Regions from separate parts of the Homo sapiens genome. Here all the other regions are linked to region 2. The links are contacts of gene promoters, found by promoter capture Hi-C in human tissues and cell types (Jung and others, 2019). All regions are on one chromosome and are shown on one strand. Each heading gives the region's core, a stretch centred on a gene start or on the middle of the fragment in contact. The rest is flanking DNA. Distances are from core to core; before and after follow the strand shown. Region 1 has its middle 52 kb from the start of ANK1. Region 2 holds the start of GINS4 (GINS complex subunit 4). Region 3 overlaps KAT6A (lysine acetyltransferase 6A). Region 4 has its middle 130 kb from the start of ZMAT4. Region 5 has its middle 150 kb from the start of ZMAT4. Region 6 has its middle 170 kb from the start of MIR548AO. Region 7 overlaps LOC105379771 (a long non-coding RNA gene).

What was found. Contacts are between HindIII fragments. The study calls those that stand out against the background at their distance.
Region 1: a contact is called between a fragment that was not itself captured here and the fragment with the promoter of GINS4 in region 2, in 2 of the 25 tissues and cell types used here (adrenal gland and mesenchymal stem cells).
Region 3: a contact is called between a fragment that was not itself captured here and the fragment with the promoter of GINS4 in region 2, in 1 of the 25 tissues and cell types used here (mesenchymal stem cells).
Region 4: a fragment that was not itself captured here is called in contact with the fragment with the promoter of GINS4 in region 2 in 2 of the 25 tissues and cell types used here (lymphoblastoid cells and stomach).
Region 5: a fragment that was not itself captured here is called in contact with the fragment with the promoter of GINS4 in region 2 in 2 of the 25 tissues and cell types used here (heart right ventricle and mesenchymal stem cells).
Region 6: a contact is called between a fragment that was not itself captured here and the fragment with the promoter of GINS4 in region 2, in 2 of the 25 tissues and cell types used here (H1 embryonic stem cells and IMR-90 fibroblasts).
Region 7: a contact is called between a fragment that was not itself captured here and the fragment with the promoter of GINS4 in region 2, in 4 of the 25 tissues and cell types used here (bladder, mesenchymal stem cells, mesendoderm cells and 1 more).

Annotation. Positions count from the first base shown.
Region 1 is chr8:41,847,219-41,851,317 of GRCh38, forward strand. It overlaps a transcript of ANK1 not described here. Among named protein-coding and RNA genes, the nearest start is that of ANK1, 52 kb to the left of the region's middle. The HindIII fragment of the contact is 3,387 bases long and covers 441-3,827 here.
Region 2 is chr8:41,526,532-41,530,571 of GRCh38, forward strand. It overlaps GINS4 (GINS complex subunit 4), which reads left to right and starts at 2,730. Exons shown (of 8, transcript NM_032336.3): 1 at 2,730-2,865; 2 at 3,653-3,767. The coding sequence starts at 3,672. RefSeq lists a silencer at 2,276-2,705. The HindIII fragment of the contact is 17,762 bases long and covers 1-4,040 here.
Region 3 is chr8:41,974,937-41,978,938 of GRCh38, forward strand. It overlaps KAT6A (lysine acetyltransferase 6A), which reads right to left. Exons shown (of 17, transcript NM_006766.5): 6 at 3,706-3,841; 7 at 2,072-2,391. Among named protein-coding and RNA genes, the nearest start is that of KAT6A-AS1, 75 kb to the right of the region's middle. The HindIII fragment of the contact is 4,974 bases long and covers 1-4,002 here.
Region 4 is chr8:41,021,298-41,025,320 of GRCh38, forward strand. No RefSeq gene overlaps it. Among named protein-coding and RNA genes, the nearest start is that of ZMAT4, 130 kb to the left of the region's middle. The HindIII fragment of the contact is 3,598 bases long and covers 230-3,827 here.
Region 5 is chr8:41,048,929-41,052,788 of GRCh38, forward strand. No RefSeq gene overlaps it. Among named protein-coding and RNA genes, the nearest start is that of ZMAT4, 150 kb to the left of the region's middle. The HindIII fragment of the contact is 3,878 bases long and covers 571-3,860 here.
Region 6 is chr8:41,103,151-41,107,010 of GRCh38, forward strand. No RefSeq gene overlaps it. Among named protein-coding and RNA genes, the nearest start is that of MIR548AO, 170 kb to the right of the region's middle. The HindIII fragment of the contact is 7,626 bases long and covers 1-3,860 here.
Region 7 is chr8:41,178,063-41,181,655 of GRCh38, forward strand. The region is part of intron 2 of LOC105379771 (a long non-coding RNA gene); the gene reads right to left. Among named protein-coding and RNA genes, the nearest start is that of MIR548AO, 91 kb to the right of the region's middle. The HindIII fragment of the contact is 9,170 bases long and covers 1-3,593 here.

The DNA.
Region 1 (4,099 bases), core at 884-3,383, 320 kb after region 2:
ATGTGAACCAGCTGGCTTTCCAGGCGGCTGTTGTCCAAGTGGACACTTAGGGATGACACCTTCAGCTCTAAGGTTTACCTGGGGAGGTGAAAGCGAGGAAGACGGTGCAGGTGGATTTATGGCCGGGCCTGAAATAACACACATCTTGTCTGCACACATTTCACTGGCCAGAATCAGTCACATGATTGCTGACTGCAAAGGAGGCCGGGGAAAACGGTCTTCACAGGGGACCAGGAGAGGAAAACGCAGGTAAGCATCCACGAGCTGCTACGGAGGTGATAATGACACTGACTTTTATTGATGGAATTCTGTAAGCCAAGTATTGTGACAGGAGCTATATAAGCATCACCTCATTCAATCCCCAAGACAGCTCGTGAAAGATTACTCATCTTCATTTTACACATGCAGAGATTCAGAGATCCAGCAACCTGACTCTAAGTTCCTGCTCTAACGTAGGAATATAGTCTTCTTGTGCAAAATTAAGACATTACAGAGCGGCATTCTTGGCCACCGTGCCTTTTATCCCAGATTCCCCACATACGCACCCAAATTCACCAGAGCTGGCAGTGTGATGTGTGTCCTGAATCTGTTTGTATGTGCATTTAAAATGCATGTACTCATATGATTATCTGATAGATTTATCATTTTCTTTAAAAAATAGAACTGTGGGCCAGGCGCAGTGGCTCACACCTATAATCCCAGCACTTTGGGAGGCCGAGGCGGGCAGATCACTTGAGAGGCAGATCACTTGAGGTCAGGAGTTTGAGACCAGCCTGGCCAACATGGTAAAACTCTGTTTCTACTCAAAATACAAAACTTAGCCGGGTGTGATGGTGTGCACCTGTAATCTCAGCTACTTGGGAGGCTGAGGCACAAGAATCACTTGAACCTGGAAGGTGGAGGTTGCAGTGAGCTGAGATCATGCCACTGCACTCCAGCCTGGGGGAATACAGTGAGACTCAATTTCAAAAATAAATAAATAAATAAATAAATAAATAAATAAATAAATAAAACTGTGCAATATACATTATTATGCAACAAATATCTAGCACATTCCTCTGCATAAAACACCCAGTGATTTTTTTCTATCAGATCACACAGCTTCCCAACTTTCCACCGTAGAGTAAGTAATCCCTTTGGACTCTAGAAGGTTCTTGGCTAAAATGCGAAGACCTCACAGGGGAAGTGGGAAGCGTGAAGCATTAACAGTCACTCACGCCTGCGTGCAGCACCATTGGTCCCTGCAGAGCCGAGCCCAGGGAGACCAGGCCCAGGACTGACGTTGCTGATGCCCTTCCCCAGTGGCCAGCCCTGGGCCCCTGGCCTGGTTTGGGGGTGCTGTCGTCTGTGCCCTGAGACCCTGTCTCTCATCAAATTGCCCAGAACACTGGGAGTTGGGGGATAAATGGATCTTCTCCTTCCACCTTGAAGGTGAAGAAAAATATCTCACCCTTTTTGAAAGAGAGACCAGACTACATCAACTTGAAAATAGCCCCAGGTCTGGACAGCTGAATTTACTGCTCTTAAGGTGATCTCATGCAATCCTTATATAACTGTGCAGACAGCCTGGTATTGGTATCCGCATTTTACAACTGGATACATCAAGTCCAAGCAGGGAGTAGGTGGCCCCAGGCTGCACTGCAAAGCCCATTCCCCACTGCAGGGAACGTTGCTTCAGGGGCCCTGGGCCAGACCCAGTCTCCAGGCCTGTGACCATTGCCCCTGGTGCGACCTGCCCCCATCCACCTGGAGCTTGACCTGCCTCTGTCCACCTGGAGCATTATTGATTGAAGTTTCCACCCTCCAGGGCCAGACAGGGCACCAGGGACTGGAATCAAACCCAAAGAGAATTCAAAAATGACTAAACTGTGTGAACTTGGAACCAAGCTTCAACATTATTTTAGGGACCTTTGAACCACATTTGGAGGGGCTCACTTCATATCCTCTGCCCATCTTCGAAGGCCTAACGGAAACCTTCTGGGTGAGGCTGCCCTGATGTCTGCACTGGAAGGGACCTGTGCTCTTCTGAACTCACACTTACTGTCTGTACAAGTAATAGGCCAGTTTATCAACCTCATCCCATGGCAGCTCTTCTTTGGCCTTGGCCTTTGGCCTTGGGCTGTGGTGAAACCCCGTCTCTACTAAAAATACAAAAATTAGCCGGGCATGGTGGCAAGTGCCTATAATCCCAGCTACCAGGGAGGCTGAAGTAGAAGAATTGCTTGAACCCGGGAGGCAGAGACTGCAGTGAGCTGAGATCACACCATTGTACTCCAGCCTGGGAGAGAGAGCGAGACAATGTCCCAAAAAAAAAAATGTAGTCATTTATCAGGAGTTCCTGTCCTATTTCCCCAAATAGAGGGTAACCCCCTTGAAGGCAAAGGCAGGATCCTGAGCATGACAATGATCCCCTCGGATCCCACCGCCGCGCAGGGAAGGTGCCCACCACACACTCAGGGCTTTCCATCACTTCAGTGTTTTCATTCTTTAATAGTTAATGCTCTGTTATTTCACCTAACAGGACGATGTCTTTTCTACGTGATCTCTCAGCTCCTTTCGTCAGCACGTCACTCACAATTTTCTCTCTTCCTCTTAACTCTTTTTCACCAACCACGCTGAAGTTTGAGAAAACTTATTCCAGCACCATCTTCATCTTCCCCATTATCTATGGAGCACCTGCGATTGGCCAGGCACCATGCTACAAGCAGACAGTATCACCACAGGGATCCCCACAAACCTTTATGGCCTTCCTCTGATCACGCTGTCAGAGCCCTGGCAGCGGCTCTCAGACAGTCCCTCACTGCAGCCTCCCCACAGCCCTGCGACCGCTCCCACACATGAGATCCTCACCCTCCTGCCGGCACCAGGCTCAGCACGCTTCGTGAAGTCACTCGCTTCACCCTTTATAAGATAAGTAGAGTTTTTCCATTTTGCAGATGAAGAAACTGAGGCTTGGTGGGGGTCCCGGCAACTTCCTTTCGCTCTCGTTACAGTGCAGCCGTCGTTTAGCCCATGGGCTAAAAGTTCCGCCTGAATGCCTAATAACTGTTGAAACTAAATAATGCTTAAGTGGGGCTAACGGTGACAACTCTTCACCTGAGTATAGTTGACATTTTTCATAATAAAAATTTAAAATCAAAAGTTGTTTCTTCCAGAAAGAAAAAAAAAATGACCAAAACAGTAGCAGGTCTAACTAACTCACTGGCATATTATGAGCACCTGGCAGATGTTCAATAAATAGTCATTTTTAATCTGTACTTATGAATTTATTTACCTTTTAGAGACAGAATCTTGCTTTGTCACCCAAGCTGGAATGCAGTGGTGCAATCATAGCTCACTGCAACCTCAGCCTCCTGGGACCAAGTGATCCTCCCGCCTTAGCCTCCCGAGTAGCTGGGACTACAGGTATGAGCCACCACACCCAGATAATTTTTTATATTTTTGCAGAGATGGGAATCTCACTATGTTGCCCAGGCTGGTCTCAAACTCCTGGGCTCAAGCCATCCTCCTGCCTTGGCCTCCCAAAGTGCTGGGATTACAAGCATGAGCTACCATGCCTGGCCCACAATAACTAATTATTGAATGAAAAACAAATGAATGAGAAGCTTAGGCAATATGCCTGAAGCCTCGGCTAGTAAGTGGCTGAGCCAGGAGCGAAGCCCAGGTTAGTCTCATGGCAAAGCTCACGTGCATGTCATCACATAGGCTACCCGGCCTCTTTCTAAGGGAGGCGGGGTGAGTCAACACCAGGTGGGTGTCTGGTAAAGAGAAGACTGGTTGAGATTTCTGTGGTCTCTGGAAAAGAAGGCACCTCCCCAGAAATCTTACCTGTGTCTTTTCAATCAAAACTTGCTCCAGCTCTGAGCTGACTTTTGACAGTAAGATGCCTCCCTATTCAATTTTAGTGCTTAGAGATCAATACTGGAGCTGCAGAGTTCACAGAATGAAATCGACCAAATCATGATCAATATTAATGGCACAGCATGGACATCAGCTTACTCAGCGGCTTCTCTCTTCGTCTGTCTCTTCTTTCTCTTCCTCCCTTGAAGCTTCACCAGGAGGCAGAAGCTTCCCCGAGGATGGCAGAGAACACTCCAGC
Region 2 (4,040 bases), core at 1,480-3,979:
CTATTTGGTAATGAGAATTATGGAAGAATGCGATTGTGCTCAAAGACCACTGTTCCAGTCAGCTAATGCTACATAACAAACCACTCCAAAACTTAGGGCCTAAAACAACAACAATACTTATTTTGCTCACAAATCTGCGATTTGGGCAGGGCTCAGCAGAGAAGCTCATCTCTGCTCCCTTCATCTTAGCTGGGACGGTTTGAAGCCTCAGCACTAGAATCACCTGAAGGCTCATTCAACCCAGACATCTGGAGAATGGAACAACTGGGGTTCTGGGGTTCCTCCAGTAAGGCTCCCCATCTCTGCCTGGCATCTTCATATCGACTCTCTTGCACATCGACTGCAGGCTAGCCAGACTTCTTCCACGTCAGCCCACAGCTCTCAAGAGATGGGGCTCCAGAAAAAAGAGCCAAGTGGAAGCCACATTGCCTTTTATGACTTAGTCCCAGAAGCCAAGCAGCATCACTTCTGCCAAATTCTCTTGGTCAAAGCAGTTAAAAAACTCTTTCCTGATGTAAAAGGCAAGAACAGGGCCAGGCGCTGTGGCTCACACCTGTAATCCCAGCACTTTGGGAGGCTGAGGTGAGCAGATCACTTGAGCCCGAGTTCAAGACCAGCCTGAGCAACATGATGAAACCCCACCTCTACCAAAAATACAAAAAATTAGCCAGGCATGGTACACACCTGTAGTCCCAGCTACTCATGGGGGCTGAAGTGGGAGGATCACCTGAGCCCAGGAAGGTCAAGGGTGCAATGAGCCGTGACCGCCCCACTGCACTCCAGGCTGCGCGACAGAGTGAGGCCCTGTCTCTAAATAAATAAATAGAAGGTGAGAACATAGACCCCACCTCTTGATGGAGGAGTGTCAATGTCACATGGTAAGAAGGGTATGTGGGGTGAGATCCATATTAGAGCAGCTATGTTTGGGAAACACACTCTGCCACAACCAAAAACCACTGGATTACCAAACCGTTGAAACAGACCTTGAAATAACCACCTATTTGCCACTCACAAAATTCATTTCATAAGACACAGCTCAAATGTCCCTTCCTTTTGGGAATCCCGTGCTGATATGCCCCAGCTTACACAGCGCTTTGTAAAGATGCCTACTCTCTCACTCGGCTTATTCTATTGTCATTTTCATAACAGGATTGTAATCAGGCAGGTACGATCATACTATATTAGCCAATCATTTTACTAGTCAATCAATATGACATCATAGGGCAGCTTTGCAAAGAGCCCTCAGATTGATGGAGAAGAGATACTTTTAGGGAAGCCAGAAGCAACGCTTTGCACAGAAAACAAAGGACAGCAAAGAGAAAAGAATCAGCAACTCAGAGAAGAAAAACTGGATCACACAAAGATGGAAAAAATATATACATATACAGACATGGGTTTTTGTGCTTTTCCCCTCCAGAAGGTGAGTTGAAAGCATTGCCCCAAAGCAGTGATTCTCTTTTCTTTTTTCTTTTTTTTTCTTTTTTTTGAGATGGAGTCTGGCTCTGTCTCCCAGGCTGGAGTGCAGTGACGCCATCTTGGCTCACTGCAGGCTCCGCCTCCCGGGTTCACGCCATTCTCCCGCCTCAGCCTCCCGAGTAGCTGGGACTACAGGCGCCCGCCACCACGCCCGGCTAATTTTTTTGTATTTTTAGTAGAGACGGGGTTTCACCATGTTAGCCAGGATGGTCTCGATCTCCTGACCTCGTGATCCGCCCACCTCGGCCTCCCAAAGTGCTGGGATTACAGGCGTGAGCCACCGCGCCCGGCCCCAAAGCAGTGATTCTCAAACCTCAGCTGTGTCAGGGTCACCGGGAGGGCCTGGGTCTGGTGAAATACCCCCAGTTTCTGATTCGGTGGGCCAGGGTGGGGCCTGAGAACCTGCATTTTCACGGATTCCCAGGCGATGCTTCTGCTGGTCGTCCGATCCCAGGCTTCAAGAACCAGTACCCACTTTGTGAGGCCGAGGTGGGAGGATTGCTTGGATCCTTGAGTTCGAGACCAGCCTGGCCATCATAGGGAGAACCTCCCCACCCCCAACCCCGCCACAGTTCTTTTTTTTTTTTTTTTTAATTAAAAAATAACTGGGCGTGGTGGCGCTGGCCTGTGGTCCCAGCTACTCCGGAGGCTGAGGTGGGAGGATCGCTGGAGCCCGGGAGGCGGAGGTTGCAGTGAGCTGTGGTGGTGCCACTGCACTCCAGCCTGGGCACCAGAACGAGACCCTGTCTCAAGAAAGATGAAAAGGAATATACTGGAGATTCTGAAGGCAATGACCACACTGACCACAGGTGAAACCCCGCAAAGACGGAGGAACCCAAAGAGCCACGAGAGCTGTGGGTGGAGACGGCCCAGGAGGCTGCAGCGGCCTGCTTTCAACAGCATACTTCTGGGTGGGACCCCCCGGGGCGGACACCGCCGCTCCCCTTGGCCGCGGTGGCGGGCGCCCCCTCCCGACGCTCTTGGGTAGTGCAACCCGGACCGCACAGCGGAGCGGCCGGCCCCCAGGTGGGCGGGGCCAACCCGGACCAGCCTCCCGCCGCCTCAAGTCCTTGGGTTGCTGGGACTGCAGGCCGCCGCGAAGACAGTCCCCGCCCGCCGGGTGGGCGGGCCCAAGGAGACCGCCCCGCTCTTCCCCCCGGGCCTTGATTGGTCAGCGTCGCCCTTGCGCGATGACGTCGTGCCTGGGCGGAAACTTTGCGAGAGTAGCGCGGGAGCTGAGAAGTTGCAGGGTTGAGTTGGTCCCGGCAAGTCCTTGAGCAGTTTGTTCCTCTGTCTTCCCGCTTCCTGGTGCCCCGACTGCGTCCCCACGAACGCCCCGTCCTTACCGCCGGCTGCTGTGGAGTGCCTCGCTGTCTCCCAGGTCCCCGAGTGAGCGTCGAATGGGACCTCTGTGGCTAGGGCAGGCCTGTGTGGGTGGCACTGAGAGGGAGGAGGGGAGGGGGATGTTCGCAGTTTCCTTGCGACCCCAGGGACTTTCTTTGTCCCCGCCATCCACCTCCTTAGGCCTTTGGGATCGCCGACTGGTCTAATGTCGCCGGCCCTTGTGGCTCTGGGAAATTAGCATTGATTAATCTTCCTAACAATTTTTGTTTTTATAGAGACAGGATCTCCCTATGTTGCCCAGGCTGGTCTCGAACTCCTGGGCTCAAGGTATCTTCCTGCCTCGGCTTCCCAAAGTGCTGGGATTACAGGCGTGAGCCCGGCCAGCTCCTAATAATGTTAAGTGCTTGCTAGGAGTCAAGCGCTGTGCTGAGCGCAGGGGCTTCCCACGTCATTGCGTCCCCAGTGCTTAGTGCCAGGCACTGAGCAGAGGCGCGATTCGTATTTGAACTAAAACGAACCCCGTCCCTGAGGAACAAGACCTCTACTGGGAAGTCAAAGAAATGAATAGTGATTGTATGGTGTGATGGGTGCTCAGCTCTTGGTGGACAGAAGTAAGGGGGAGGCTTGTTTGAGAAACGGATACCTGACCTAAGCCTTGGAGGAAGAGGCAGACACTGGAAAACTAGAGTCCCTGCGTTCTCTCACCACTTGCTAAAGGGCCTCTACAACCCCAGGAAACCTCAATAAACCTTTCCTTTCTCCAGATAGATGTCTGTTCTTGCAGATAATTAGAAAACGCATTGCAGAGTATTGGTTCTTTCCCTCTCATTAGGTTCCTGGTTTCAGAGAAGATGACCGAAGAAGTGGATTTCCTGGGACAGGACTCTGATGGGGGTAGTGAGGAAGTGGTCCTAACTCCTGCAGAGCTCATTGAAAGATTGGAGCAGGTAAGCATCCCAGATCGAATCCCTTTGCTCCAGTCAGCCTTTTTATTTAGTTCAACTGTGAATATCAGGGATCACAAGATGAGGAAACGGAATTTGGGGCTTACTTTAGAACAGGGACTGGATCTTACCATCTACATGGAAACGGGAAGCAAGAAGGACATCCTCTGTTAGAGACCTCATCATATCAAACACAGCATCCCCAAGTGGGGTCAGTAAGGGACAGCTTTGGGCACATTCAGTGAACAGTTCACAGAGCAAGGATCCACGTGATAT
Region 3 (4,002 bases), core at 742-3,241, 450 kb after region 2:
GCATTAAACTGACTCTTAGAAGAATGCTACTCAATAAATAATATTTATGTATTAAATCTGCCTTATAGTGGAAATCCTGAATTGTCTTAAAGCTTCCTAAAAATATTATATAACTAAATTTAAACTTCATTAAAGATTACATTTTAATACACAGAAAGGCAGACAGAAAAATGATATAAGGAATATAAATTTCATTTTGAAATAGTATAAATTTGACACTTTTAGTATAGGTTTAATGCATCAACGTTCAAAAAAACCTCTTGAGTAGCTACCTTAACTGATGTCAGCAGTACTAACTCCCATCACATTCTGGGTGCCCTTTTAAAGTTAAAGCACAAACTTTAAAACACTGTCCTTTTAAAGCACAAACTCTATTTACCCAGATGATAATCATCTGGGTAAATATGAAAACGTATGATAATTATCTACTAAATGATGGAACTTCCTCAAGTTGGCAAAAAACTAGTGAAGAGAGTATTTGGGACTTATGAAGATCATTATCCTTTGCATTTGAAGATGACACTGCTGTTGGGCTCATTTGCTCTCTTTATAAGTATGGCTGAAAAGACCAATTGGTGACAGTTCTCAAGTCAACTGCACATATGGGCCATCTGTTATTAACTTAACACAAGAAGAAAAAAGTCAAGGACTCACTGTTGACAACATTCTCAAACTGGAAGAAAAAAGTACAATCTAAAGGTACTATGTGACTTTAATGCCCCCTAGTGCATGATGCATGCACCTCTCTAATACAGCATTCGGTACTTAAACTTTATAATTCATAAAGAAAATGACAGAGCCTATTAAAGCAAACGCTCACACCACTGTCAAAAATTCAATATTGGTTCTCCATATACTTGATACACTTGCTCTAACAATTTCTATTTCAAAAGCTTTCTAGTAGATTCTTCTAATAAACCGTCTCCAGTACAAATGGTTAATTCAAAAATGTCTTTCATTAGGATTTGCTCTGAGATTCTTTCCTAGTTTAATCTAAACGGATTGCATATTTTCTTAGATAAACATGCTCAGATCAGGAACTTATCTACAGGTTGATAAAGACATGAAGAGTCTTGAATGCTTAAAGAGTAATTAGTTGATCATCACTATGGTAAAAGACCAATCAATAAAGCATACAAAGGGGACTCTGACAATTACAAGGACTTTCTCTCCTGCACTGGACAATCAACCACGAATGAGAGCAGTGAATACACTCTCCCTCACCAAGGAGACATTCAGGGAGGAAACCAAGGTCAGGGAATTCTCTTGTAGTAGATGAGACACTACACCTCTGGCCCTTGTGGTCCAAAAGAGTTCATTCTCATTCTACTTTCTTCAAGCCCTTTCTACTTCCTTCACAGGGTTAGTATCTCTAAATTCAAGGCTCAGCAATAAGACTATTTTAAGCTTTAATTTATTGGACAGTTAATCAAATTCTTCTCCTCTGACTTGAATGATTTGCCACATTATTAAGTCCTCTCCACAGATGTTTTCTACTTTGAAAATTAGGGAACTTAGCCTGATACATAAGCAGCCTGGAGCTGTGGTTCTGTCTCTCCCTTTTTAAGTGCAATCCATGACTTACAACTATATTTGTCAAGATCTGAAGTAGAAAAGTCAATGACCTCATCACATCTGCAAATATTTTGGTCTTTTTTTTATGCTTAGATCAACAGCATTTCACCCAGTTCTATTCTTTCCAGTTTCCTTCCTGGAATAAGCAGGCATCATAACATTCACCATATGATTTCTTTAGTAATTTGTGAAATGTAAAGTAATCCTCAAGGTTACACCCCAAGTTTCTCTAGGCAGATTCTTTGTGGTTCTACAAAAAAGCAGCTTCCTTTTGCCTAAGAGTTCCTACTGTCCCATTCTGCAACTTTATTTCCATCCTCTAAATTCCTGCCACAGTTATCACCTCAGTATCATCTACATGTTTTTTCAATGTGTTCTTATATTCTATAACCAATTGTTAATAATCAAATATAAATCCATTATAGATAATTAGTGTTATCCCGAATAATACATGTACAGAATACTATTTGTTTCTAAGTCTGTTCTAAACTCTTACCTGTGGGCCAATCTGAAGTGCTTGATTTCCTGTTGCCCCTCTTTCTGATTCGATATTGCTCAGAGTAGTCCACCACTTCCCCCCGAGCTTTCCGCCCATCAGGGGAAGGGGTAAAAAATTTGGTAAGGCCATCAATGAGCCCTTTGGTTTTCTTGTTGAACTTCAAGGAGACATTGCTATCTCTGCAGAAGTCCAAGCCATCTATCCGCTCTAAATATCCTTCTTCTGATGATGATGATGCTGATTGGCTGGAAAGAGTGATTTTTCGTTTCCTACCCCTTCCAGGGCCAGTTCGAACTTTGCTGAAGGGACCTTTTGATCTAAACAATTAAACAGGGGAAAGGGTAAGTATTAAAAAAGATACTTGTAAGGTTCCTTTTTAATACATAACATATAATTAGTAAGTAACCTACAGCTTTATTAAAATCTATATTATTAAGAATATTCTGCAAACTATAAATAGTACTCTGTGAATGAAAATTAATATTATTATTAGAAACATCTATTGCCAGGAAGCCTACTTATAGTGCAAAGAATGACAGGCCAGGAGTCAGAAGACTTGTTCTAGTCATAATTCTCTCTTACTAGCTGTACGACTTGGACAAATCACATTTTTTCTAAACATATGTCAGTGCCTTCATCTGTAAAATGAGAACTGGACTAAGAACAACTAAGATCCTTCCAGGTATAAAGTTCTACTACACTGTGATCTCTGCACCAACTGAAAGTTATACTTTTATCTCTAAAACACAAGGATGGGTTATTCTTCGAAGGCCAGGAATCAAAAGATCATTTTATAGGAAAATCAAAGCTTGATTTAAGATTTTGAATATAGACTACAATATTGGTTCTGTACATTTCAGGCTGCTAATGCCCATTCATTTCAGTTATATCACCTTCAAGATAGTCTTACGTGTAAAAAAAGTAAGTAAAACTTTTGATAATAAAGGGAGGTTGACAAGCCTGAAGACGTTTACATATCATCAAAGGTGAGTTACTACAGACATTTTTAAAAAGACAAAACTAGCTACTGAATCTTGCCCCACCTCCTCCAGACATAGCCCAGCTTTCTAGTCCACAATTTCTGATTTCTGCTAATAGATGAAAACATTCAAATTATTTTACATCCAAAGAACACAAAAATGGGACTTAGCCATCACCTCAATAGGAAGAACCTATCCAGTGATTTGTACACCTAATAGATATTAACAACTGAGACAAGATCAGGAGAGTGACATGTGAAATGTCACAGTAACAACTTTTTCTTTCCTGTTTTTATATAAGAGAAGCAACATAAAGCAATGGTTAAGAGTCAGACTTTGGTGCCAGACTACTCGGATTTTCATCCCAGTTCAACATTTACTATGCCTTAGTTTCTTCCTTTGAAAAATGAAAGTAACAGCAGCAGCTATATTTCACTGGGTTGTTGGCAGAATTAAACAATTCAATGCATATAAAGCACTTAGAATAGTGTCTGGCACTTATTAAGGGCTGAATAAGTGTTAGCCATTATTATTATATAAAAGTGCCAGATATGACAATGGAATTTTTTTCATAGAGAAAACAAGTGAATCCTACACTATAGAGAAGACCCTATCCTTTTCTCCCCTCACCTTGCCACAAGTACAACTTACACCGTGTTTTGTTTCTTTAACCTGTTTTTTGGACGTCCTATTGGATTAGTATAGCGCCGTTTTATCTGTGCTGCCTTCTTTTGTAGAAGTTTTCGTCCTTTTTTCCTAGGTCGACATATTTGACATATCCACATGCCTATAAAAAAATAAAATTCCACATAGAAGTGTGACAGACATAAATACACTGAAAGGTTTCAGATAGTCTTAAGTCAGGATCTTAACTTTTTCAGGTAAAAGACTGTCATTAGAAAATCTGATGAATACCCCCTCCAATCCAAAATAAACATTAAAACATAT
Region 4 (4,023 bases), core at 779-3,278, 510 kb before region 2:
TCAGTTCCACTCTGATCTTAGTTATTTCTTGTCTTCTGTCAGCTTTTGAATTTGTTTGCTCTTGCTTCTCTAGTTCTTTTAATTGTGATGTTAGGGTGTCAATTTCAGATCTTTCCCACTTTCTCCTGTGGGCATTTAGTTTTATAAATTTCCCTCTAAACACTGCTTTAGCTGTGTCCCAGAGATTCTGGTATGTTGTGTCTTTGTTCTCATTGGTTTCAAAGAACTTACTTATTTCTGCCTTAATTTTGTTATTTACCCAGTATTCATTCAGGAGCAGGTTGTTCAGTTTCCACGTAGTTGTGCAGTTTTGAATGAGTTTTTTAATCCCGAGTTCTAATTTGATTGCAGCTGCCTCTTTTTATATGCCCTTTGAACTAAGAATAGTTTTCTTTTGTCCACTTTTAATGGCTGAAAAGTTGTAAATGGTTAAAAAAGAATATTTTATAATGCAAAAATTGTATAAGATTTACATTGTATGTATTGGTTATTTACAACAAATAAACATCCCCAGGGACAAATAGCCCAATTTTCAAACCAAAGAATCAATCAGTGATTTATTTCCAATATACAGAACCCAGATGCTTGGGAAAATCTCAGTCTTCATAAGCGATCTGAGTATTCATCCACACATCAAGAACTAATGAATAAATACGTCCTGTAATTATAAATGAATCAAGTATAAGTGCTGTAGTGACTTATAAAAGAAACTCACTTTAGGGGTTTACCTTTTTTTGTCATTGTGCTTCTTTTTTTCAATCTGCTGTTTCCATCAACTGTAATGGGAATTACATCACCCTTCGGGATGGCCTCCTGCTGCAGTGACTGGAAATCATGGCTGTGGCATTTAGTCTGACAATGGAACAAATGTTTGCAGCTGGTACTCGCCAAATAAATCCAGGGCATCTGAGCACTTGATTCAGAGCCCCTCCAGTTCTACAGTCTTTCCAATTGAATTATCTAGCTCTATCTGTGTATAGCTACAAGAAATGAGTAGAGTGAGAGTTTATTTTGTGTCCCATCCAGAAGTTTATTCTAGAAACAGATTATATTTTGAGTCAACTATGAAGTGGCTACTCGCTAAGATAAGCTTTCTATTTGCTGACAATGATTGGCTGCCTCAAGCTGCCTTGAGCTCCCAGTCACTGGAAACTTTTTTTTTTTTTTTTAAGGCTGGATATAACCATTTATCGCAGTCCCTGCAGATGGGATTTTTACCCTGGGCGGCAGATTACCTCTAAATTCTGATAACCTTTAAGGTCCCCTCTGATTCAAAATCTATTATTCTTAGATAAGGCCCAGGAGCATTTTTCTGAGACTGCCCCAGAAAAAAATTTAATAACTCCAGGCACACAATGACTCTTGTTCATCATTTACCTGTTACTGCCACCTGCCTCCCTTGCTTTCCATTAAGTTTGCAAAGAGTAGAAGATCTGGCTTCTGGGCTGCAATTTAATACGTGTGCAAAAGTAATATCAGAATCCTGCCATTAATAGGGCTGTACTCCAAGGAACAGGGCATGCTTTATTAGTTCCTCATCAATTAAGCAAGGGAAACCTTCAGGCTTCAAAACGAACTGTGTCTCAGTGGCGACAGAGAGAGATGATTTTGTCTACAAGACGGAAATCCACAGGGGACAATGAATGCCTCTGTTCCACATGGGGAAAGGGTGGGGGTCATATCCGCCCTCAGCAGCTATTTTCAGTGACAGAGAAAAATCCCCTCCTGAGGGAGGGCGTGACAAACAAGGTGACTGGGGGCTTTCTCAAACTCCACATTGTTCCATACCAAGATTCCAAGATACCAAGGTACTCTGTAGGAACACACATGGGGAATCCCAAACAAAGGAAACTTTTTCCTATGACAATATTTTTTCTTTAAAAAAAGTCATGGGCTGGGCATAGTGGCTCACTCCTATAATCCCAGCACTTTGGGAGGCCAAAGCAGTCGGATCACTTGAGGTCAGGAGTTTGAGACCAGCCTAGCCAATATGGTGAAACCCCGTCTCTAATAAAAATACAAAAATTAGCCAGGCATGGTGGTGGGCACCTATAATCCAGCTACTCGGGAGGCTGAGGCAGGAGAATTGCTTGAACCCAGGAGGCAGAGGTTGCCATGAGCTGAGATCGTACCACTGCACTCCAGCCTGGGTGACAGAGCAAGATTCCCTCTTAAAGAAAAAAAAAAGTCATGGATAGTAGTGACATCTATGTCTCAACATACCAGTGCAGAAAGAGTTCAGAACTTCAAGGTATACCAGGTGGGGCACACAGGGATGGAAGGAGATGATGGCTATCAGGTGTTATTATGGGACATAGTGAGAGGCAAGGACTGTAAAGTGGTAATGCTAGAAAATTAGGCTGATGCCCAGTCATGGAGGCCCTTGTGTGCCCAGTTACATGCTCCTGCAGGTGTTAAAGAGCCAGTAAAGGATTATATAAAGGGAAGTGATGTAGACGCAGCTCTGTCCACCACATACTGAGGGGACAGACTGGGATGCTCCACAGGCTTCGGAAGCCAAGGAAACAAGCTTTAATTGGAGATATTAGTTTGGGCATCATTAGGGTATAAGTAGATGATAAAGTCTGAGTGTTTGTCTCCTCCAAATCTCATGTTGAAATGTGATCCCCAGTGTTGGAGGTGGGGCCTAGTGGTGGCTGTTCAGGTCATGGGTGCGGATCCCTCATGAATGGCTTGGTGGGGTCCTCAAGATAATGAGTGGGTTCTTGTTCTGTGAGTCCCCGTGAGAACTGACTGTTGGGAGAAACCTGGCACCTCCTCCTGCTGCTCCCATCTCTCTTGCTCCCTTTCCTACCCTGTGACATGCCTACTCCCCCTTCTCCTTCCAACAAGATTGGAAGCTTTTTGAAGCCTCACCAGAAGCAGATGCTGATGCCACACTTCTTGCACAGCCTGCAGAACCATAACGCAAATCAACGTCTTTTATTATTTTTTAAAATGTATCTATTTTTGATGGACATTTAGGTTGGTTCCAAGTGTTTGCAATTGTGAATAGTGCCACAATAAACATACGTGTGCATGTGTCTTTATAGCAGCATGATTTACATCCTTTGAGTATATACCCAGTAATGGGATGGCTGGGTCAAATGGTATTTCTAGTTCTAGATCCTTGAGGAATCGCCACACTGTCTTCCACAATGGTTGAACCAGTTTACAGTCCCACCAACATTGTAAAAGTATTTCTATTTCTCCACATCCTCTCCAGCACCTGCTATTTCCTGACTTTTTAATGATTGCCATTCTAACTGGTGTGAGATGGTATCTCATTGTGGTTTTGATTTGCATTTCTCTGATGGCCAGTGATGATGAGCATTTTTTCATGTGTCTATTGGCTGCATAAATGTCTTCTTTTGAGAAGTGTCTGTTCATGTCCTTAGCCCACTTTTAGATGGGGTTGTTTGTTTTTTTCTTGTAAATTTGTTTGAGTTCTTTGTAGATTCTGGATATTAGTCCTTTGTCAGATGAGTGACAATAAGAACACATGGACACAGGAAGGGGAACATCACACATCAGGGCCTGCCGGGGGTTGGGGGAGTGGGGAGGGATAACATTAGGAGATATACCTAATGTATATGACGAGTTAATGGGTGCAGCACACCAACATGGCACATGTATACATATGTAACGAACCTGCACGTTATGCACATGTACCCTAGAATTTAAAGTAAAATTTAAAAAAAATTATCTATTTTTGAGACACAGTCTCACTCTATTGCCAAGGCTGGAGTGTTGGAGTGTAGTGGTGGGATCACAGCTCACTGCAACCTCTGCCTCCCAGGTTCAAGTGATCCTCCTGCCTCAGCCTCCCAAGTAGCTGGGATTACAGGTGTGCACCATCATGCCTGGCTATTTTTAAGTTTATTTTTGTGGAGACAAGGTTTCACTATATTATCCAGCCTGCCTCTTTTCTTTGTAAATCACCCAGTCTCAGTATTTCTTTACAGCCATGCAAAATGAACTAAGGCAGTAGGTGACAAGGTCATGGAAAGTACGAAACCACCC
Region 5 (3,860 bases), core at 1,260-3,759, 480 kb before region 2:
GGACAGAATCTGGGAAGGAGCAATAAACAGAAATTGCAGATATGACCACAGAAGCCATGGCAGACAGGGAGGGGTGAAGCCTGAAAGCCCTGCTTGCTTTCTCAGTGGAGAGGCTTGTAACCTGAAGCAAGATCTCAGCCCCGTGCACCAGAGGTCTGGATATAAATTCAGCTCTGTTGCTATTGAAGGAGCATGGTGGAAGTGAGACTGGCCCTGCTGGCTGCATGGGAGCTGGGTGAGGCCTGTCACTGCCAGCTTTCCCCCACTTCCCTGGCAACCTGTTTGAAGAAGCAAAGGCAGCCATGATTCCCCTTGGAACATCACTTGATTAGCCTGAGAACCAACCCCCCCATCTCCCACAGTGACTGCAGCAAGCCCTGCCCCAAGAGAGTCTGAGCTCAGACACGTCTAACACTGCCCCTACCTGATGGTATTTCTCTACCTGCCCTGGTAGCTGAAGACAAAAGACATAAACACATGGGAGCTCTATGGCTCTGCCCATCACCTGAGAAACCCAAATACTCCTGGATAGGAGACTGTAGGGCAAGCTTATAGCCCCACTATACTACAGCAGCTGATGCTGTTTTGAAAGCTTCACCTCCTGGCAGGAGGCCAACCAACTCAAGCCACTACAGGAACTCATGAAAGAATAACCCTGCTCCAAGGAAGGAGAAAACAACAGCTAATTTCACTGCCTGTAATATCCTGGCTAATCAGAGATACAGAGTCTGTCCACATGACAACTTCACTGCTAGCATAAGCAGCATTCGAGAAAACCAGTGCACTAAACAAACCTACAACCAAGGATTCTCAGAGTCCCCTTCACTCCCCTGCTACCTTCACTGGAGCAGGTGCTTATATCCACAGCTGAGAGACCTGAAGACAGATCATATAACAGGACTATTTGCAGACACTACCCAGTATCAGCCCAGAGCCCGGTAGCTCTGCTGGGTGACAAGGCTCAGAAGAGCAGTAGCAATCACTGTAGTCTGGCTCTCAGGAAGCCCCATCCATAGGGGAAGGGGGAAAGCACCATATCAAGGGAGCACCCCTTGGGACAAAAGAATCTGAATTGCAGCCCTTGATTCCCAGATCTTCCCTCTGACATAGCCTACCCAAATGAGAAGGAACCAGAAAAGCAATTCTAGTAATACAACAAAACAAGGCTCTTTAACACCCCCAAAATATCACATGAGTTCACCAGCAATGGATCTAAACCAAGAAGAAATATCTGAATTGCCAGGAAAAGAATTCAGAAGGTTGATTGATTATTAAGCTACTCAAGGAGGTACCAGAGAAAGGTGCAAACCAACCTAAAAAATTAAAAACATAATGCATGATATGCACAAAAACATTTCCAGAGAAGTAGATATCATAAATAAAAAACAATGAAACCTTCTGGAAATGAAAGACACACTTAGGGAAATGCAAAATAGGATTGAACAAGTAGAAGAAAGAACTTTACAGCTCAAAGACAAAGCTTTAGAATTATCCCAATCCAACAAAGATAAAGAAAAAAAGAATTTAAAGAAATTAACAAAGCCTCCAAAAAGTTTGGGATTATGTTTAATGACCAAACCTAAGAACAATTTCTGTTCCGTGGAAGAAGAGAAATCTAAACGTTTGGAAAACTTATTTGAGAGAATCATCAAGGAAAACTTCCCTGGCCTTGTGAGTGATCTAGACATCTGAACACAAGAAGTTCAAAAAACACCTAGGAAATTCATTGCAAAAATATCATGACCTAGGCACATAGTCATCAGGTTGTCTAAAGTGAAGACAAAGGAAAGAATCTGAAGAGCTATGAAGCAAAAGCATTAGATAACCTACAAAGGAAAATCTATCAGATTAACAGCAGATTTGTCAGCAGAAACCCTATAAGCTAGAAGGGATTGGGGTCCTATCTTTTGCCCTCTTAAACAAAGCAATTATCAGCCAAGAATTTTGTATCCAGTGAAACTAAGCTTCATAAATGAAGGAAAGATAAAGCTTTTTTCAGACAAACAAATGCTGAGAGAATTTGCCACTCCCAAGCCAGCATTATGAGAACTGCTATAAGGAGTTGGAAATCTTGAGACAAAACCTCAAAATACATGAAAACAAAACCTCCTTGAAGCATAAATCTCACAGGACCTATAAAACAATAATACAATTTTTAAAAACAGGTATTCAGGAAACAACTGGAATGATGAATAGAATAGTGGCTCACATAGTCTATACTAACGTTGAATGTAAATAGCCTAAATCCTTCACCTCCACTTAAAAGATGTAGAATTGCAGAATGAATAAGAATTCACCAACCAAGTATCTGCTGTCTTCAAGAGACTCACCTAACACATAAGGACTCACATAAACTTAAAGTAAAGGGGTGGAAAAAGATATTTCATGCAAATGGACACCAAAAGTGAGCAGAAGTGGCTATTTTTATATCAGACAAAACAGACTTTAAAGCAGCAACAGTTAAAAAAAAAAAGGGACATTATCTAATGATAAAAAGACTAGTCCAACAGGAAAATATCACAATCCTATATATGCACCTAACACTGGAGCTCCAAAATTTATAAAAACAATTACTACTAACGTAAGAAATTAAATAGATGGCACCACAATAATAGTGGGGAACTTTAATACTCCACTGACAGCACTAGACAGGCCATCAAGACAGAAGGTCAACAAAGAAACAATGGACTTAAACTATATCCTAGAACAAATGGACTTAACAGATATTCACAGAACATGCTACTCAACAATTGCAGAATGTACATTCTATTCATCAGCACATGGAACATTTTCCAAGATAGACCACATGATAGGCCACAAAACAAGCCTCAATAAATTCAAGAAAATCAAAATTATATCAAGTACTCTTTCAGACCACAGTGGAATAAAGTTAGAAACCAACTCCAACCCTCAAAGTCATGCAAATACGTGGAAATTAACTAATCTGCTCTGAATGATCTTTGGGTCAACAATGAAATCAAGACGGAAGTTAAAAAAGTACTTGAACTCAACGATAATAGTGACACAACTTATCAAAACCTCTGGGATATAGTAAAAGCAGTGCTAAGAGGAAAGTTCATAGCATTAAATGCCTACATCAAAAAGTTTTAAGAGCACAAACAGACAATCTAAGGAATCTCAAAGAACTAGAGAAACAAGAACAAACCAACCCAAACCCACCAGAAGAAAAGAAATAACAAAGATCAGAGCAAAATTAAATGAAATTGAAACAAAAAAATACAAAAGATAAATGAAACAAAAAGCTGGTTCTTTGAAAAGATAAACAAAATTGATAGACCATTAGTGAGATAAACCAAAAAAAGGAGAGAGAAGATCCAAGTAAGCTCAATTAGAAATGAAATGGGAAATATTACAATTCATGCCACAGAAACGCAAAATATCATTCAAGGCTACTGTGAACACCTTTATGCACACAAACTAGAAAACCTAGAGGAGATGGATAAATTCCTGTAAATATACAACCCTCCTAGATTAAACCAGGAAGAAACAGAAAGTCTCAACAGACCAATAACAAGCAGTGAGATAGAAGTGGTCATTTAAAAAAATTACCAACAAATAAAGTTCAGGACCAGGTGGATTCACAGCTGAATTCTATCAGACATTCAAAGAAGAATTGGTACCAATCCTACTGAAACTACACCAAAAGATGGAGAAAGACGAGATCCTCTCTAAATCACTCTATGAAGCCAGTATCATCTTAATGCCAACACCAGGAAAGAACATAACAAAAAAAGAAAACTACAGACCAATATCCCTGATGAACATAGATCCAAAAATCCTCAACAAAATACTAGCTAACCAAATCTAGCAGCATATCAAAAAGGTAATCCACCATGATC
Region 6 (3,860 bases), core at 405-2,904, 420 kb before region 2:
CTGTATCTATAGCAAGTATCTTTACTTTCCTCCCACTCTTATCCTTCTATCATGTAACATAAGATGTGTTGACCTTATATGATAGTATTTAAGCATTGTTAACATTACATCATAGTTTTTAAGTTACAGAATATCAAGGAGAAGGGTAAACATCACCCAAGAACTTTGCAACTTCTTCTGGGACAAGAATTAGTGTTTTTGATTTTATGTAGGATAGTTGTATCATGTTAGGCAGAATGATGACCTTGTGACTGTTTTACTTTACTTTTTAAAAAGTGTTGGATTCTCACTCTGTCATCCAGGCTGAAGTGCAGTGGCACAATCACAGCTCACTGTAGCCTGGAATTCCTGGTTCAAGGGTTTAAGTGATCCTTTTGCCCTCCTGAGTAGCTGGGACTACAGGTGTGTGCCACCATGCCTTGCTAATCAAACGCCTCCTGGGTTCAAGCAATTCTCCTGCCTCAGCCTCCCAAGTAGCTGAGACTACAGGTGCATACCACCATGCCGTGCTAATTATTGTATTTTTAGTAGAGACGGGGTTTCACCATATTGGCTAGGCTGGTATTGAACTCCTGACCTCATGATCTGCTTGCCTCGGCCTCCCAAAGTGCTGGGATTATAGGCGCCAGCCACTGCACCCAACCCCTGCACACTTTTAAATGACCACATCTCCAGAGAACTCACTGTTGTTAGGACAGGACCAAGTGGGATGGGGCTAAACCATTCATGAGAAACCACTCCCATGACCCAGTCACCTCCCACCCGGTCCCACCTCCAACACTGGGGATTACAATTCAGGATGAGATTTGGGAGCAGACACAGATCCAAACTATATCAGGACCATAATATCCTGAGACATTAAAAATATGGGCTGATTTGGGAAAGAGGAAAGCTAGCTCTGATTTTGAGGAGCGTGAGAGGGAAGGGAGAGTTATTAGGATCACGGTTCAGAGAACAGTCCCACATCAGCCCAATATTTAAGCAAGGACCCCTAGAAGCTGCATTTCTTCAGAAACAAGAAGGAGCAAGTAACTGGCCCGAGTGTTGAATTTCTTCCTCACAGCTGAGAAGCCTTCAGTTTTGTGGGTTTTGGGACGTGGTCAGTCTACTTCTCCACGTTCAGAAATTGTAACAACAGTGCACAACCTGTGGGTGTGTGATGATGCTAGGAGACGCGGCCTCCCTCACCCCTGGCAGAGAGTTGCTCAGGTAAAGTGCGAGTGATTGAGTTAAGCATATAAACCTGAGGTCGGATGCGGTGGCTCATGCCTGTAATCTCAGCACTTTGGGAGGCTGAGGTGCGAGGATCGCTTGAGCCTAGGAGTTTGAGACCAGCCTCAGCAACATAATGAGACCCCATGTCTACAAAAAATACAAAAATTAGCCCGGTGTGGTGGTGTATGCCTGTAGTCCTAGCTACTCGGGAGGCTGAGGTGGGAGGACCACTTGAGCCTGGGAGGTTGAGGCTGCAGTGAGCCATGATCACAGCACTGCACTCCTGCCTGCGTGACAGAGCAAGACCCTGTCTTAAAAAGAAAGAAAGAAAAAAAGCATATAAACCTGATGCTTAGTTTACTTTTACAAATACAGTTTATTTCCATTATAAAATGAACATATAATAAAAGTTAGAAAATACAGAACATTCAGAAGAAGAAATGAATGCTCATATCATCTTACCATGTAAAGATATTTATTAACTTTTTAATGTGATTTTCATTCTATGTGCAGCTTTCTGTTCTTTTTGTACCGAACATTATATGATGGTCATTTTTATATATTTTTACTAAAAACCATTCATAATCATTACTTGTGCTTGTTTCAAATTAGCCATTGAGTGACTAAGCTATTATGACAATGATTTCTATATTCCTGGGACTTTTAGATTGTTTCTAATTGCTTACTAACAAAAATAAGTGACCATCTTAACTCAGAAAAGTTTTTTCAGTTCCCAAGAACAGATTCACTGGGTCAAAGCAAACGACACTTGACATATAAATTATAAAATGCTTTTCCAAATCGTCTCACCGCACTTCAGTCTTATGTTGTAAGTTGTAAGTGCATGGGAGAAGCACAAGGGGCGCTGTTGAGGTAGCACTATAAGTAAAGGAAATGGAGTCCCCTCTAGGAGTTAAGCTGCAAAGCCAGCAAGCACACCTAAAGCACAAGCGCAGGAAGTGAGTCCGTGCTGGCTTGGCAAAGAGGCTGTACACTGGGGAAAATAAAGTTGCATCTCCTGCTCATCCATACACAAAGGTAAACTGCAGGTGGATTGAAGGCCTAAGAGCGAAAAGCAAAACCAGTGTGGTAAGAGAACTGTGCAATGGATGAGAGACGTCTTATCTCTAAGACGTCAGGAAGCTAAGGATTTCCTAAATAAGCCCCTCGAAAGCATAAAGCACAAAAGCGGGAAACAGTAGATTTAAGTCTATTAAAAGTAAGGATTTCTGTTCATTAAAAACACAATAGATGAAATTGACAAATTGGTGGCAAATCTGGAAGACATTCACAATTTTAAAAATCAACAAGGGATCACGTCTATTATAGAATACGCAAGGAACTTTTAGCAATCAACTGAGAAAAGACGGAAGCCCATAGAATGTGAGCAAGAGGTAGGAATTAGCAATTGACAGAAAGGAAAGCCTAGGTGGCTAACAGGTATACATGGTGTTCAATTTCACTGGCATTCACAAGTGTGCAAATTAAAGCCACTTACCACCTTCCCCTCATCAGAGCGGAGAAAGTGGGCAGTTAAACAATCCTCTCAAGCGCACTGGTGGGTGTGGAACGAGGACCCCATTCTGAGACAGGATCCTACAGTCCTTCATGATGTCAGGAACGCATCTGGCTACGGGTAGAACGCCCTCTCCTGGGGTGTGCTCCTGAGAAAGCTTTCCGAGGCCCACAGGGGATAAAGCATACACACCCAAGCAGGCGTGTTAAACACGTCAGAGCAGATGAATGTGGGGAAAGAAGATGGAAATTGGGATGAGGAAAGAGGGGGAATATTAATGAAACTACAGTCAGAGAGGAGTTCTGCAAGGCTGGTTATAGCACGCCATGAGCTGAGGCGTGTAATTAACTAGACACTCTCCATCTGACGTCCAATTTAATTAATTAATTAATCAATTAATTAGTTACTTACCTGGACTCTGCCTCACGAGTTAGATCATCCCTTGGCACTGATAAAAGGCAAGTCTGAGCTGACAAGGCAAAGCTGCTTTCTACCAGGCTGGCCTTGGATGATGCCATTATGCACCATGAGTGCAAATCGTTTCTACAGGTACTCTTGGTTTTAAAAATGTTTGTTACTCTGATAAGTAGAAATGTACAATTAAATTTTAAGAGGTATACAAAGATTTTAACATGACATCTTTCTTTCAAAGTCATGTATGCCAGGCAAAGTGGCTAACACCTGTAATCCCAGTATTTTAGGAGGGTGAGTGGGGAGGATCGTTTGAGTCCAGGCATTGGAGACCAGCCTGGGCAACATAGGGAGACCACATCTCAAAAAAAAAAAATTAGCTGGGTGTGGTGGTTCACACCCGTAGTCCCAGCTACTCAAGAGGCTGAGGTGGGAGGATCACTTGAGCCCAGGTCAAGGTTACAGTGAGCTATGATCAAGCCACAGAACTCCAGCCTGGGTGACAGAACAATAGCTTGCCTATTGAAAAAGAAAAAGTCCTGTGTATTTCATTTTATAAAATGAAGATTTACAAACCCCTTGCTGATCCCCAAGAAATCCTGGGCTGTCATAGGTAGGGCTTGGTCAATGTGGTAGGCAGAATAATGACCACCACCCCAAAAATGTCCATGTCTTAATCCCTAGAATGTGTTACCTTCCATGGCAAAAGAGACTTTGC
Region 7 (3,593 bases), core at 50-2,549, 350 kb before region 2:
TGGTGAGGCTGCATCCTCCAGAAGGCTGGCACACTGTCCTCACGCGGCAGAAGAGCTGGAGGACTAGCCAACCAAATGTGGCATGAAGCTTTATTTTAAACAGGCTTAATCCCATTCACAAGGGAGGAGCCTGCATGGTCTAATTATCTAATCACCTCTCAAAGGTTCCATCTCTTAATAATATCACATTGACAACATTTGAATTTTGGAGGGGACACATTCAAACCATAGCAGTAGGCCTAACTATAGTAACAAATTCAAATTTCTTTTTTTCACCAGAGTCGCACTTCATAAAGCAAGTATCCCTATCTGTCTTCCCTTGCCAGGGGCCTCATTCATCTAGTCCACACTGCCCCAGGAATCCTGTTTTACACATGTGAGGGTTGTCTCAGTTCAATCTTCTCACCTTGTGTGGGCCCCAAAACAGAAGATCCACAGAAGGCATTAAAACCCAAGACCCTAGATCAGAGATCAGCAAAGCATAACTCATGGGCCAAACTGAGCTCACAGCTAGGCAAGTCTTCCCACGCCCTTTTGCTTATGTATTGTCTGTGGCTGCGTTTATGCCACAGAGGCAGAGATGAGTAGTTTGAACAGAGACCATCTGGGCTCGTAAAGCCAAAAATATTTACTATCTGGCCCTGTACAGAAAATGATTTCCAACCCTTGCTCTGGACAACCAGGACCACCAAAAGCACTAGCAACTCTCTTTGTTTTTAGCCCTTGGGAAATACTCTCACCTTTTTGCAAACTCAGTGATGCATTTCAAAGGAATTTTGTATCCTGCGAGTTTAGCCATATTGAGTGGGGAGTTTTTCTAGGACATCTAGTCCACCACATGGCCAGAAAGCAAAGCCAGCCTCTTCTTTCTTTTACCTCTCAAAATTCTAATCACCTTTTGAGGTCTAAAACAGAAATTCTCTCCTTCAGAAAGCCTTCCCCAATGATTTTGGCTTATTGTACCATGTGACTACATGTACTTTAAATGTCCTTATCATCTCTAATCTATGGTCTAGTAATTCATCATAGGAGTGTGTGTGTGTGTGTGTGTGTGTGTGTGTGTGTGTGTGTAACTGCTCTCCAGTTGCATTGAGCAGGTAATTATTCTCTTTCGTATAGTTGTCAGAATCTTAAGAACAATGTTGATCATTGAGATCAATACCTAGTATTATGGGATTTGAGAGTTGACACAATCCTGAGATGTTATGGAGCTCTACATCTGGTAGTTTAGAAAAGAAACCTTGGCCTCATCATGGCAATGGAGAATGTAGCAAGGGGAAGTAGCAAGTGTTCAGGCCTTGGGTTTACACAGAACTGGGTTCAAATCCCAGTTCTAGCTAATTGCATACTAGCCATATGACCTTAGGTAATTAACCCTTCTGAGTTAAGGTTGCTTCATCTATAAAAATATAAAGTAAAGAATGTCATACCTACCTTGGACAATCGAGAGACTTAGAAAGAACATATATGCACAGTTTATGGCATAAGGAGGCAATTAGTAAGCTACTATCATGTTATGGAAATGACTTGTTTGTTAATGATCTTGAGACCACACTTGAAGGTTTTGACTGTTCCAATACTCCATGCATCCAAGCTGGAATTCGATCTGTTATGTGTATCCAAGTTTGTGAAACCTGGACAAGAAGCCTAGGAAATACAGAAAGGAACTGGCAAGGATGCATGCCTAGACCTTACCAGAGAGCAGATTTCCAGCATTTTAGGTCTGGCCGCAGAAATTCTGCAGGGCTAGAACAGGTCAAATGGCCTAACCAATCTAATCAACAGAAAAGTGTATTACAATGTTAATAGCTATCAAAAATGGCTGGTTGACTGCAACTGCCATAGATAATGCATCTTGGTGCTGTCTTTGGCTTTGGCTTCCTTGATAACTCTGTCAGTATCTTATCCCACCATGCCCAGCAGGCCTGAGCTTCACCAGCTAGTCTTGTTCTTTAAGGGAAAACAAATTGTTTGGTTTGCTTTCCCCTTGTTTCTGGCATTTGTAACAGAAGGAACTGAAGAGGGAGATGGGGTGGCCTGAAGTTGCACCACCTCCCTCCAGGCTGACTTAGACCTATGTCTTTGGTGCTCATTCAGGGGTGCTAGAAGCCTCATTCAGGTGCCCTGAACAATGGGTTGGACATGGGATAGCAAGAGAAGCCACAGATGTATTTATGACCCTAGCCACAGAAGAGGCAATGGGAGTTTATTGGTGAGAAGGCCAGCTCATCTAGGCCTTGACTCCTTTAGTAGCACTGGGCTAGTACTTGCTGACATGACCTCTTTAAGCCCTTGCCTGGTGGCCTGCACACTTCCTAGGTCGCTGCACTGCCTCTTTTCTTTTTCCCCCATAGGACATCTGAACATGCCTGCTTTATGCAGCATTCTCCTGCAGGCAAAGGGGTTCCCATTCCCATCCTCACTCTGCCCAAACACATGTGCCCACACCCTGTCTCCACTTTCCAACATTTTATTGATCCATCACTTTTTTTTAAGACAATGTCTCACTCTGGCTCAGGCTAGAGTGCAGTGGTGTGATCACAGCTCACTGCAGCCTCAAATTCCTGGGCCCAAGCCATCCTTCCACTTCAGCCTCCCAAGTAGCTAGGACTACAGATGGGCACCACCACACCTCACTAATTTTCTTAAACTTATTTTTGTAGAGATGAGGTCTTGTTATTTTGCCCAGGCTAGTCTAGAACTCCTGATGTTAAGTGATCCTTCTGCCTCAGCCTCCCAAAGTGCTGGGATTATAGGCATGAGCCAGGCCTCCATCACTTCTGACTTACTCAATGATGGATTTTGAAATTTACTTGTTTGTGTTACTCACAGCACCAAAGGCTGTGTTCAGTGTTTCTTGACTATTTCAATTCTTATTCATTAGGATGCTCTGCATCTGAAGACAGAAGACTCAGTAATAGTAAACCTTTAATTTGCACAGCATTCTTTTTCAATATATGATTTTATACTTTTTAAGTAAACAAAGCATCTAAACTAGGTCAATACTATGTTGCACTAAGTTATTCAAAATGACCTATAAAAAACAATAAATTGATGAAAAAATGTGCAATTCAGATTTCCCTAACATACAAATAGCACTGCAAAATTAAAAGACCAAATTCCAACAGAAAAATGGGAAAGGACATAAACAAGACAGCTCACAGAAATGAAATTAAAAATGGATTACAACATCGGGCAGTGTACTCAACCTTATTCATAATAAGAGAAAAGCTAACTTAAAATTCTATTATCTACAGTTTTTCACCTTTAAGATAGGTAGAGATTAATTAGTGCAACCTCTCTAGAGTGTGATTTGGCAATATTCATACAAAATGCAACGGTACACACCTTTGACCCAGCAATCCTACTTGCAAGAAATTGCCAAACAAATGCATTCTCACATATATGTGGATAATATACATACAAGGTTGTTAACGGTAGCATTATTTATCATAGCAAGGTTTGGGGAAACACCTAAATGTTTATTAATAGAGGACACTGCTTAAACAAGTCATGGGACATCCATACAATGGAATACTATACAACTGCAAAAAATAAAGTGGTGGGCCGGGCACGGTGGCTCACGCCTGTAA